3 separate regions of the Homo sapiens genome follow, and regions 2 and 3 are each linked to region 1. Evidence: promoter capture Hi-C in 16 types of primary human blood cells and fetal thymus (Javierre and others, 2016). All regions are on one chromosome and are shown on one strand. Each heading gives the region's core, a stretch centred on a gene start or on the middle of the fragment in contact. The rest is flanking DNA. Distances are from core to core; before and after follow the strand shown.

The links. The method cuts DNA at HindIII sites, captures the fragments that hold promoters and counts their contacts. A CHiCAGO score of 5 or more calls a contact.
Region 2: a fragment that was not itself captured here is called in contact with the fragment with the promoter of TCHH in region 1 in 1 of 17 cell types (total CD4 T cells); the score reaches 5.8 in total CD4 T cells.
Region 3: a contact is called between a fragment that was not itself captured here and the fragment with the promoter of TCHH in region 1, in 12 of 17 cell types (M0 macrophages, M2 macrophages, naive CD8 T cells and 9 more). The highest score is 10.3, in M0 macrophages.

What each region holds. Positions count from the first base shown.
Region 1 is chr1:152,114,092-152,118,024 of GRCh38, forward strand. It overlaps TCHH (trichohyalin), which reads right to left and starts at 1,353. Exons shown (of 3, transcript NM_007113.4): 1 at 1,300-1,353; 2 at 1-20. The HindIII fragment of the contact is 15,075 bases long and covers 719-3,933 here.
Region 2 is chr1:152,425,505-152,429,640 of GRCh38, forward strand. No RefSeq gene overlaps it. Among named protein-coding and RNA genes, the nearest start is that of CRNN, 13 kb to the left of the region's middle. The HindIII fragment of the contact is 5,033 bases long and covers 1-4,136 here.
Region 3 is chr1:152,453,830-152,457,745 of GRCh38, forward strand. No RefSeq gene overlaps it. Among named protein-coding and RNA genes, the nearest start is that of CRNN, 42 kb to the left of the region's middle. The HindIII fragment of the contact is 3,652 bases long and covers 620-3,916 here.

The sequences.
Region 1 (3,933 bases), core at 103-2,602:
TCCTTCAAGTTCAAGTAAACCTAGAACAATAAAATAAGATCCAGAATCAAAATCCCGTTTCTGCTTTTGGGAAGGCTTCATTCACACTATTTCAGGCAGATCCCTAAATAATTTGAATTTATAGCGGTAATTTCAACCTGGACTTTCAGAGCACTTTAATATTTGAATATTGTATCAGAAAGAGAAAGAGCGATCCTGAGAAATTCCAAGCCAGGGAATCATCTTCAGACTATCCTGTTGTCAGCTTTTGATTGTCCACCCAATGTGGATTATCTATGCCCTTTTCTTCTGTCTTTCTTCCAGCTCTCCACCGTATTTCAGAGTAGAAAATTAAGAGAAGAGTGCAGAAATTAAAATTTTATATATGTCTACACACCTTCCTTTAAAGTTGAGCGAAGAGGACAGGTAAAAGCCAAAAGGTGAAGGAAGACTTGAGAGTATCTTAAAGTGGATAGAGGCCATGTCAGCAAAACAGTTGGTAGAAAATAGAACAATGAAAAGGGAATATGAATGATTCCTCAACATTACAGTCCATAAAGGATTTAGGAACTCTTATAGAATATAATTTGTAAGTCAGCAATTCTAAGATTAAATAGTACTTCTTCCTAGTCAAAAGATGGCATTGTAACATTCAGATACACAAATGCAGAAAACAGAGACTGTATATTACCTGCCTCAACTCAGATATAGTAAGATATTCGGATATTGAAGTATTGAAAGCTTCTGAGAGGTCCTTTCTAAACCAAACGGAATCCAGAAAACTGTGAATGATATTGGTTTTGTTAAACCCAAATGCATCATTGGAATCTTGGCTTTTTATAAAACATTAGCCAGCAGTAGATCAATGTTATAAGAATACATGGAATGGCTTTGCTGGTGGGATAAGTGTAGTCGTTCATCTAGCTGACTTCTTTATGTACTTCTCAACTCCAGTACCTTAAATGCTGTGACTGTATGAAGATGGCCCATATTAGGTAGAACCAATGTAAAAGAGAACAGAAGGCTGGCAAACTTTTGAGATAGCAGTTTTTAGGAAGATGAACCCTATCAGAGCCACACATGATCATCCTTGATGTGCAGAAGTATAGAGTTCAGAGCCCAAGGAGAAGGGTCATGCTTCAGTTCAAGTGATGGCTCCAACCATAAGAAGATGGGATAGAGTTAGTGATAGTTTATTTATCCCTGCAAAATACTGATACCTTCTGGCACATGGAACCTCCCCCCATATCCCAACATCTGAAATAGCTATAAAAATGGAGAATCATAAAGAAGACCACGATCCCACAGAATGGGACTTACCCACTTCACCAGAGGAAGAAGTCGACAGTGCTTGCTGACACCACAGGCAAGTGTACTGGGTAACTGGGAGCTGGGCCTTTTATAGGGGTTTTAATTGTGCCCTGGAAAGCAACTTGGGAAGGAGACACCCACTCTGTGGGATGGCCTGATTCATTCCTAACCAAGCCCAGCTCCACCTCTGTCTCCACAAATGGCTTGTTTATCTCACTATTTGCTCACGTAGCTATTTGGCACGAGGTTCACAGACCTTGCCTCCTGACAGTCAGGGTACCAGCCCCACCTAACATGGGAGGGTAGAATATTTGGCAGAATCTCCAATTTTCTTAAATTGTTAAAAGTAAATTAAATAATAAAACAAAGGTATTAAATGTTCACAATCTTAATTGATTATTACTTCATTACAAAGGAGTAAACTCTAAGCCATTTGCTTTATAAAAGATACAATCTCTAGTTTGGGATTAAGCAGAAACTTTGAAATAAAGTGATGAAAACCAATTAATTTCTCCATGGGATGTGACAGTCCATGGTGAGCTGCTCATAAGCCCTGCCAGAAGCAGTTGCTTCAATTCTAGGGCAATGAGAGAGCTGTAAAGAATTGGTTAGTTTCTTCTCTAAAAATGCAGGTGGGAAAAATTTTTACATTTGTCTCCCGGGTCTTATGATGGTTTTCCTACAGATTGGGGACTGCCTCCTCAGTAAAGTTTGGAAGGGTACCTTGGAAATATATTTTTATTAAACCGTTCATAAGAAAACTTGAAATCTGTGAAATTTCATTCTTAGAGACATTAAACCTAAATGAAGTTTGTTCATTAGTTTTCTCATTAGCATATTGATGCCCCTGGGGAAAAAGAGCTGGTGTAATGTATTATTGTAGATATAATCATCCTGCTCAGCCTAAGTTACTAATGATTATGACACCTAAACACTTGAGTCTGCTTCTCCTGGAAGTACATTGAGGTAATTGGTCATTCTAGCCCATTATATCCATCAGGGCTTTCTCAATCTGGTTGATCATTTGCAAATTTCAGTGCTGTTTTATTGTAAGGAATTGGATTTTATCCATGGTTGTCAGTGACTTCCTTCCTTACATTTCAGACTATATGAAACTTTGGTTCATAATTTATGAAGACTATTAAATGATTCAATGGCTTCTCTGCACTTTTGTCTCCTCCTTTGTCCAACAGAGGCAAGTGTTGGTTTTCTGAATTTTGAGGCAACTGAACGTCCTTCAATGGCATGAGTGAAAATTTGGAATCTAAATCTTGATGGCTATTTCTTTATGTGCAGATTGGTCTAAATGATAATGGAGTTGAACTCTATTTGCCCCCTCACTTGCTGCCATCCTAGATGTGGGGTACAGAGGAAGGTAGAAGTGACAGGGAATGGGAAGACAATTATAAGCAATGCTAATTTCTGCCTCTTAAGGACTTCAACACTGAAGTCTACAATTTAGTGGTTTTCCTAGGACTGTCAGAACTGTCACTATTTCTTGGGCTCAGTTAACAAACTTGATGTGGCAATTCCTTGGTGAAGGGTGAAGACTTCTCATTTTTCCCCTTCTTTTTAGGGTTTTATGCAGCTCTCTTACTCTTTGGATTCTGAGATAGGACCATCATAAGCACTGACCACACTGCAATCATGTGATCATGGAAGCTCACTCTCTCACAGAGGGCACTAGCCTTTTGTATGAGTGTTCTTCAAGGAATAACCTGGGCAAGGACTGCCTTATGTCTGCTTTTGTTTGTATCCTCCTGTGTGTGATCTATTGGGAAACCTCAGTTCAGGTGATGGGATGCATTTACATGACTCCATTACTTTCCTATAGTGAATAAACCCTAAAGGGAACTGGAAATTTTTAGGTTCCATGAAAATAAAGGGAAAAGTAGCATTAACCATTCTAAAATTATAGTTAGAATGGCAATTCCCCCCATCACCATGCTTTTGAACAGCCTTGAAAAAATACCCCAAATTGCATTTATTATAACAGAAAAACCCTTTCTCCTCTCTGAATGAAGCTAGATCTTAAATTCAGTGATGGTTCTCCTACCCACTTTTATTTAAAGTCAGTTCAGTATAAGGGAAAATATTTAAAAACCTGCATAAACCTAAGAGAATTGGCCTCCCTTCCTGCTCTTGGTCCATCATCAGAAAGATTGTAAAGTAGATTCATATGCTAAATCCAAAATCAAGTTTGAAATTCTCCTGGTGAAGTAGCTTCATTGCTACATAATGTTCTTTTATTTTACACACTGTCATTATTTGAGAATATCATTTTAAAAGGAGTCTGTGACATAAGGTTTGGACAGGGAAATAGTTTCCATAGCTTTCTAGTGTTTCAAAATGTTGGTAAATGCTAAAGAATGTAGAAAATTATATCAAATCCTAACAAATTGGTTCAGTCTATTTTTAGTTAAGACCAACTGGGAATTCTTGTAATGTAGTAGTGTTCCTTTACTGTGGACCATTAAAAAATAAAAATATTATTATAATCTGAAATAGCTCCATTAAAAAAGCTCCAATATCACTGTTTTTTAAGACTGGAGACTGAGACACTGAAAGGTCAGAGAATACTACTGACTGGCCCAGGAATGACCCAGGTGCCCCTGCTCCATTTCTACAAGAATGCCCTTCTTT
Region 2 (4,136 bases), core at 811-3,310, 310 kb after region 1:
CAAGAGTGAAACTCCGTCTCAAAAAAAAAAAAAAAAGACTGCGTGCCCACCATGGTGCTGAGGTGACTCCCGCACATGACACCTTTACTTCTCATACCCTGAAAAGTTCTTCTTCTTCTTCCCATATTTCACAGGCGGAACTTGAGTTTCAAAGAGGTGAAATGACATGTCCAAAGTCACACTGACAACTGTGCAGGGAGATAATGAGGTAAGAGGCAGGCAGGACTTGTCTCTGGACCAGACTGGAGACTGGCTAAAACAGAGAAGAGACACTGAGCATCTCCCATTGCTCTTGCTGCCCATCACCATGAGACACTCCCACCAGTGCCATGACAGTTTACCAATAGTGTGACAACACCTAGAAGTTAATACCCCCTTCCAGGGCAACACTGAGAGGTTACCACCCATTTTCTAGCTATTTCTGAATAACCCACCCCTTAATTAGCATGTCATTAAAAGTGGGTATAAATATGACTGCAACCCACACCCTGTTGCTACTCTGGGTGCACTGGCAATGGGGTAGCCCTCCACAGGAGCAGTCAGGGAGCTGTAACACTGTTGCCACCACAGTAAAGCTGCTTTCTTCCACCACTGGCTGACTTTGAATTTTTTCCTGAGTGAAGCCAAGAACTTGCCCTACATCAATGGAACTGGAGCTGTTTTTTTTTATTCCTGGCTCAGTGGGCTTCTTCCTATGCAAATTTGCCTCCATGGTGGATTTGGGGTAAGGTGGGGAGCATGAATGCCCATAAGCGGTAGGTAAAGTGTTTTTTTCAATGTGAGGGCCTCTTCCACAGCCCTCTCAGCAGGGCAGGAACGAGGACTTTGAGGACTATGGGCATGGGTTAGGGTGGCCCCACAGAAGGGCAAGACTTCAGAAGCAGCTCTCTGATGCAGGAGTGTGGTGCCCTGAAACACCATGTAGTATCACACATGATAGCCTATTTCAACCCTTTAGAAAGGGACTCGGAGCCTCCAAGAACTTAGAGCCTCCTTCTTTGCTTCTAAATTGTTATACTCTTGGCCTGTCCTTGGCCAGGTATGACTTTTGTTGTTGTTATTCCAATGGAAACTGAGGACTTTGCAGGCCAACTGAGCTCAGGATATAGTCTGGCTCCTCCCCTTATGAACTCAGTGACTTAGGACACATCCTTTAACTTCTCTGAGCTTTGGGGTCTTCTCTGAAAATGGAGGTTATATAATACCTTTTCCTTCATGTATTGTGTATAGATTAAATAAACTGGTGAATCTTGAAAGGTTTTCCTGGTGACTGATGACAGTAGGCTCTCAGTAGACAATAGATATATGATGCCAATCATGAAGATGGAGACAAGAGCAGTGATGGTAAAAGATAACCAGCTCTTCAGAGTTGGCTAAAAGTCCTTATACAAGAAGACTTGATATGGTTAGACAGAAAACCCAGAGGCTCCTATGACTCATGAGGGAGGTTTTGTAATGTAACATGGCTGAATAATAAAGTGTGTTTTCACCTATAAAAGATAAATCTACTTAAGTTTCAACATGAACTTCTCTGTTCAGTTGCAAAGTAGGAACAGAGTATTTGATGAAAATTCTGAAATTTTGACTGCAAATGGAAAGAACAGAAAAGTCTCTGCCACTTCTGTAAAAGCTATGGCACAAAGCTATGAATATTTGGGCATATGTTGACAACAGTTGACACAGAATCAGAATCACACAAGAAGCAAATCCAGAGAGGACCACACTTACATGATTTACCAATTCCCCAGTGAGGTGGGTGGGATTCATGTCAAACCCATAAACACTTTGTAAATTATTTTGAAATCTATTGTGAATACAATTTTTCTTAAGCTAATATTTCTATCAAATAATTTATACAATGGTGTGGGTTCTGTCACTTTTAATTATTTTTGCTGTCAGTTCCTAAGATCTAAATTGAAAGAAGCTCATCAGTTTTACTGTGGATGAAGTCCTAACTGGGGAAGGGTGTGCTCACTGCCTTCTAGATTCAGGTGCCCAGACTTGGCTCACAGGTCAGGTCTCTGCATCTGGCCTGGTTCTTGATCTCCCTGGATGTGCCACGCCCATCACTTGTGCTCAGATGGTCTCTCTTTGAACCCGTTGCTGCCTCACATGGAAAACCAAATACAGAACACTGCAAGGTATAAGGTGAAGTCCCTGAGGTGTGTCATCTGGGGAAGGGCCAGCTCTGCTCTGCCACAAGGGACGCATGTGTTTGTTTTGTTCATACTTGGAAGTATGTCTTTGTAACTTGGAAGTATGTCTTTGTAACTTGGAAGTATGTCTTGTATACTTCCAAGCACTAACAAGCCCCATATTGCTTTTTTTTTTTTAACATAATAATATATGTCCCTACAAGCTGTAGAGAGGATATAGGCACCGATAATTACAGGCTAGCTCATCATTGCCCCTGGGGCTCTAGATGAAGAGCACTGTGTTGGAGGTTGGAGACTATTCTCTCATTCTCACTGGCTTCTTCACATGGTCTGTCTACTACTCTGGCTTCTTCAGAGAAACAGAACCAATAGGATATACATAGATATATATGAAGAGAGAGACAGTGTTGAGAGTGTATTTGAAGGAATTTTAAGGAATTGGCTCATACAATTGTGGGAACTGGGAAGTCTGAAGTTTTCAGGACAGGCCGGCAGGCTGGAAATTCAAGCAAGAATTGATGTTTCAGTCTTGAGCCCAAAGGCAGAATGGAGGCAGAACTCCTTCCTCTTCAGGGAACCTCAGTCTTCTCTCAGAAGGCCTTTGACTGATTGGATGAGGCCCACCCACATTACAGAGGGTGACCTGATTTACTCAAACTCCACTGATTTAAATGTTAATCACATCTAAAAAATGTCTTCACAGAAACACTAGACTGATGTTTGACCAAAAACTGGGCATCATAGTCTAGCCAAGTTGACACATAAAATTAACCATCACAGTCTGGGTACTCATTTCATTAACATAGTCCTGGCTTTTTATAATTAGGGATTTCTCCCCTGATTTCTTAGCAAATTAACAGTCTTTTGATATATTGGTCTGGGCTTTTATTTCTTGTCTTTCTTCTCAAGAAGTCTGTTCCAATCTTCTTTATTTTTAATTTCACAATTTTCTTTTCTTATTAAAAGCACCACATGTACATGGAAGAAAATTGAGATATCAAAAGGAAAAATAAAAATGATTATAATACTGCCCTCTGGGAACAATCATTAGATTGTATATCTTTTCAGCCATTTTTCTATGTGCATAGATAAGCAATGACAATACTAACAATAGCTAACATGTATCAATTACTGCATTCCTGATATTAATTCATTCAATCCTCCCAGCATCAGTGAGGTGGATACCATCATTATTTAGGAGAGGGAAACAAGGCACATAGGGGTTAAGTGACTTGCTCAAGGCCACACAGCTAGTGAAGGTCAGAGTCAGACTCAACCACTCAGGTTCTCAACCACCGAGATTTTAAAAACTTCACTATAGTGCCCTTATATACACATATTTTTATATAATATTGGAATTATTCTGTATACAATATACAGTTTATTTTACCTAATTTTTTACATAGGGATGTGGTTTGGCTGTGTCCTCACCCAAGTCTCAACTCGAATTGTATCTCCCAGAATTCCCATGTGTTGTGGGAGAGAGACCCGGGGGAGGTAACTGAATCATGGGGGCTGGTCTTTCCTGTGCTATTCTTGTGATAGTGAATAAGTCTCACAAGATCTGATGGGTTTATCAGGGGTTTCTGCTTTTGCTTCTTCCTCATTTTTCTCTTGCTGTCACCATGTAAGAAGTGCCTTTCAACTCCCGCCATGATTCTGAGGCCTCCCCAGCCATGTGGAACTTTTCAGGTATGTCTTTATCAGCAGCGTGAAAATGGACTAATTCACATAGTAAAAGAAAATTAGGTTTTTAAAGATTATTAAATAGTCTTCAACTTTTCAACATCATTTGTAGTGGTAGTAAAGAATTCTACTGAATGGAGGTGCCATTGCATATTTAATTATTCCACTTTTTAGTTTCTTAGCCTGGTTTTTTTTTTCCTTTTATAAAACACACAACATGAGGCCAGGTGCAGTAGCTCACACCTATAATCCCAGCACTTTTGGAGGCCAAGGCAGGCAGAACACTTGAAATCA
Region 3 (3,916 bases), core at 1,196-3,695, 340 kb after region 1:
GGCTAGCCAGTTATCCCAGCACCATTTATTGAAGATAAATGGTTGAAGATCAGATAGTTGTAGCTGTGTAGCTTTATTTCTGGGCTCTCTATTCTGTTCCTTTGGTCTATGTGTCTATTTTTACCTGTACCATGTTGTTTTGGTTACTGTAGCCTTATAGTACAGTTTGAAGTCAGATAATATGATTCCTCCAGGTTTCTTCTTTCTGCCTAGGATTGTTTTGGCTATTTGGGCTTTTTTTTTTTTTGTTTTACATGAATTTTAGAATTTTTTTTCTAATTCTGACCCTGGTAGTTTGATAGGAATAGCATTGAATCTGTAAATTGCTTTGGGCAGTATGGCCATTTTAACAATATTGATTCTTCCTATCCATGAGCATGAAATGTTTTTCCATTTGTTTGTGTCATGTCTGATTTCTTTCAGCAGTGTTTCCTAACTCTCATTGTAGAGGTCTTGCACCTCTGTTTAGCTGTATTTGTAGGTGTTTTTTTGTTTTGCTTTGTTTTGTGTGTGTGTGGCTATTGTGAATGGGATTTGTGTTCTTGATTTGGCATTCAGCTTGGACATTATTGGTGTATAGAAATGCTACTGATTTTTGTGTACTGATTTTGTATCTAGAAGCTTTGCTGAAGTTGTTTATCAGATCTAGCTTTTGGGCTGTGACTATGGGATTTTCTAGGTATAAAATTATATCACCTGCAGAGATAGTCTGACCTCCTGTCTTCCTATTTGGATGCCTTTTATTTCTTTCTCTTGCCTGCTTGCTCTGGTTAGGACTTCCTCTCTTTATTATGTATTATATTTTCCTTCTTTTCATGCCTGGTAATTTTTTATGGATACCACACATTGTGAATTTTACCATTTGAATGGCTGGATATATTTTTGTTTCTATAAATAAGAAACAAAAGTTAAGTTACTTGGAAACAGTTTGGTCCTTCAAATTTTGCTTTTTAAGATATGATGGGTGGCACCAGAGCAGTGTTTAGTTTAGGACCAATTTTACTACACCACTGAGGCAAAACCTTTCTGAGTACTCTACCCAGTATCCAATAAATTATGATGTTTTCTACTCTAGCTGTTAGGAACAGGGGTTCTTCCTAACTCGGGGTGATCCTGGGATTATTCGCTTTCATTCCTGCAGGGAGGTCCATCCTCTGCCTCAGGTAGTTTCCTCACATACAGGTGCTGATCATAACTCAGCTAAGGATCTGAGGGGAGGCTGTTCCTGATTGTCAGGGCTCCCCTGCCCCCTTCTCTCTCTAGCTCTTGCCTTGCTAGGTGAAGGGGTGGCCTGCCCCTCCACACCTGTGGGTGTTTCTCGTCTGGTGGGACGAGAGACTGAGAAAAGAAAGAGACACAGAGACAAAGCATAGAGAAAGAAAAGTGGGCCCAGGGGACCGGGCGCTCAGTATACGGAGGACCCGCGCCGGCACTGGTCTCTGAGTTCCCTCAGTATTTATTGATCATTATCTCTACCATCTCAGAGAGGGGGATGTGGCAGGACAATAGGGTAATAGTGGGGAGAAGGTCAGCAGGAAAACATGTGACAAATGTCTCTGTGTCATAAACAAGGTTAAGAAAAAGGTGCTGTGCTTTGATGTGCCAATACATAAACATCTTGGTGCATTAAAGAGCAGTATTGCCACCAGCATGTCTCACCTCCAGCCATAAGGTGGTTTTCTCCTGTCTCAGTAGATGGAACATACAATTGGGTTTTACACCGAGACATTCCATTGCCCAGGGATGAGCAGGAGACAGATGCCTTCCTCAGAGTTATCTCAACTGCAAAGAGGCCTTCCTCTTTTACTAATCCTCCTCAGCACAGACCCTTTACGGGTGTTGGGCTGGGGGATGGTTAGGTCTTTCCCCTCCCATGAGGCCATATCCCAGGCTATCACTTGGGGAGAAACCTTGGACAATATGTGGCTTTCCTAGGCAGAGGTCCCTGCGGCCTTCCGCAGTGTATTGTGTCCCTGGGTACTTGAGATTAGAGAGTAGTGATGACTTTTAACAAGCATACTGCCTTCAAGCACTTGTTTAACAAAGCACATCCTGCATAGCCCTAAATCCATTAAACCTTGAGTTAACACATCACAGGTCTCTGCAAGCACAGGGTTGGGGCTAGGGTTACAGATTAACAGCATCTCAAGGCAGAAGAATTTTTCTTAGTACACAACAAAATGGAGTCTCTTATGTCTACTTCTTTCTACATAGACACAGTAACAGTCTGATCTCTCTTTCTTTTCCCCACAGCTAGGCTAGTAGTCTGTCTTGAAAACTCTAGCTGCCTTGGTCTTTTAGGATCCAGTTCCATTTATTCAATCCTGAGAGTCCACTGGACTCTGCCAGTTTCCGCTCCCTGAGTCACAGCCTGGAAACCCTTTGCCGGGAGGAGGCCAGGACAGTCCTAGGGTTCAGCTCATTTTGTTTCATCTTGCAAACATCATGGTCCTGCATTGCTTCAGGTTCATGGTCTTGAAAACTATTGTTCTTTTTATATAGCCATTCCTTGGTATTCACGAGGGATTTGTTCCAAGACCCTTGAAGATGCCAAAATCTGGAGATGCTCAAATCCCTCACGTAAAATGGCAAGATATTTGCATATAACCTATGCACATCCTCCTGTAGACATGAAAACATCTCTAGATTACTTATAATACCTAATATAATGTAAATGCTATGTAAATGGTTGTTATACTGTATTTTTAAATTGTATTTTTATTGTATTTTTTCAAATGTTTTTGATCCATGGTTGGTTGAATCCATGGATGTAGAAGTCAAGTATAAGGAAGGCCAACTATAGCTTGTCAGATTATGTAGTTGTTTCAGGTTACAGGATAAATCCATCCCTGTAACTCCATTCCCATTGGAAGAGGAAATTTCCACTTTATATTTTTGCTAGCATAATACCATTTTTTCTGGTATTTTTCAAAATCACAACCTAACATTGTAATTCTAAAGTATTTAGAGTTATACATCTGTTTAAAATTTCAAATTGGATGAACATGCAATCTCCCCACTAAGACAGGCATTTGCCTTTGTCTGGGTGAGGCTGACCATTGTCTTTTGTGTTTAGCAGTTCCTTATAATCCCTCCATAACCAGCCTGGGTCTCTCTCCACTTCCAGAAGCCTTGACAGACTGTTTTAGAACTGGAGAGATGAGGAGTGGGGGTGAGATGCTAAGAACACACAGGAGAGGGTATGGCAGGAAGGAGGACAAAAGGGCAGGAGTTCCTAGGGCCAAGTCCCACCACTCTTCACCCCCAGCCTGACCACCTCCCTCCCCTCCGGGGCACACATCTCTCTGCTCCTCTTTACAGAGCCTCTTTATTTAACATGTCATGTGGTTCTGGTATCACAGTCACTACTCTTGTTGTGTGGAAGGGCAGAATCTCAGGGGCCCAGGACAGAATAGAAGACTGTTGGTGAGGCAGGACTTAGTCCCTTAGGGAGTTACCAGGCCAGCCCTGCCCCATGCTGTGGCAATCACAGGAGTGTGTGATACAGAGTGCTTGGAGAATAGGACCAGACCACACTTGACAAAATGGTGCCTATGGGGGTGCAACAATAACATGGCATTTTAGGAAGAGGTGGACAGGACAATGAGTTGCTTTGGGGGCTTTGGTCTTGTACACCATGCCTAGGTTCTGAGAGGGCAACTGTACCTTGCAGAATGACTGCCATCTGCCAGGCACAGTGCTAGGCTTTTTACAACCATTACGCCAGTCATTCCTTATGTCAACCTTATGTGGTGTGCATTGTCCTTTTACATTTCACATCTGAAGACAATTAGACTCAAAGGGTTTCAGATAGTTACTCGATGGGACTGGCACTCCAGAGTCTGCGAGGGCAGAGAAGTTTGCTGGGAGACTGAGAGAGTGCTCATGGGATATTGTGGTATGGGAGGAGCTGGAG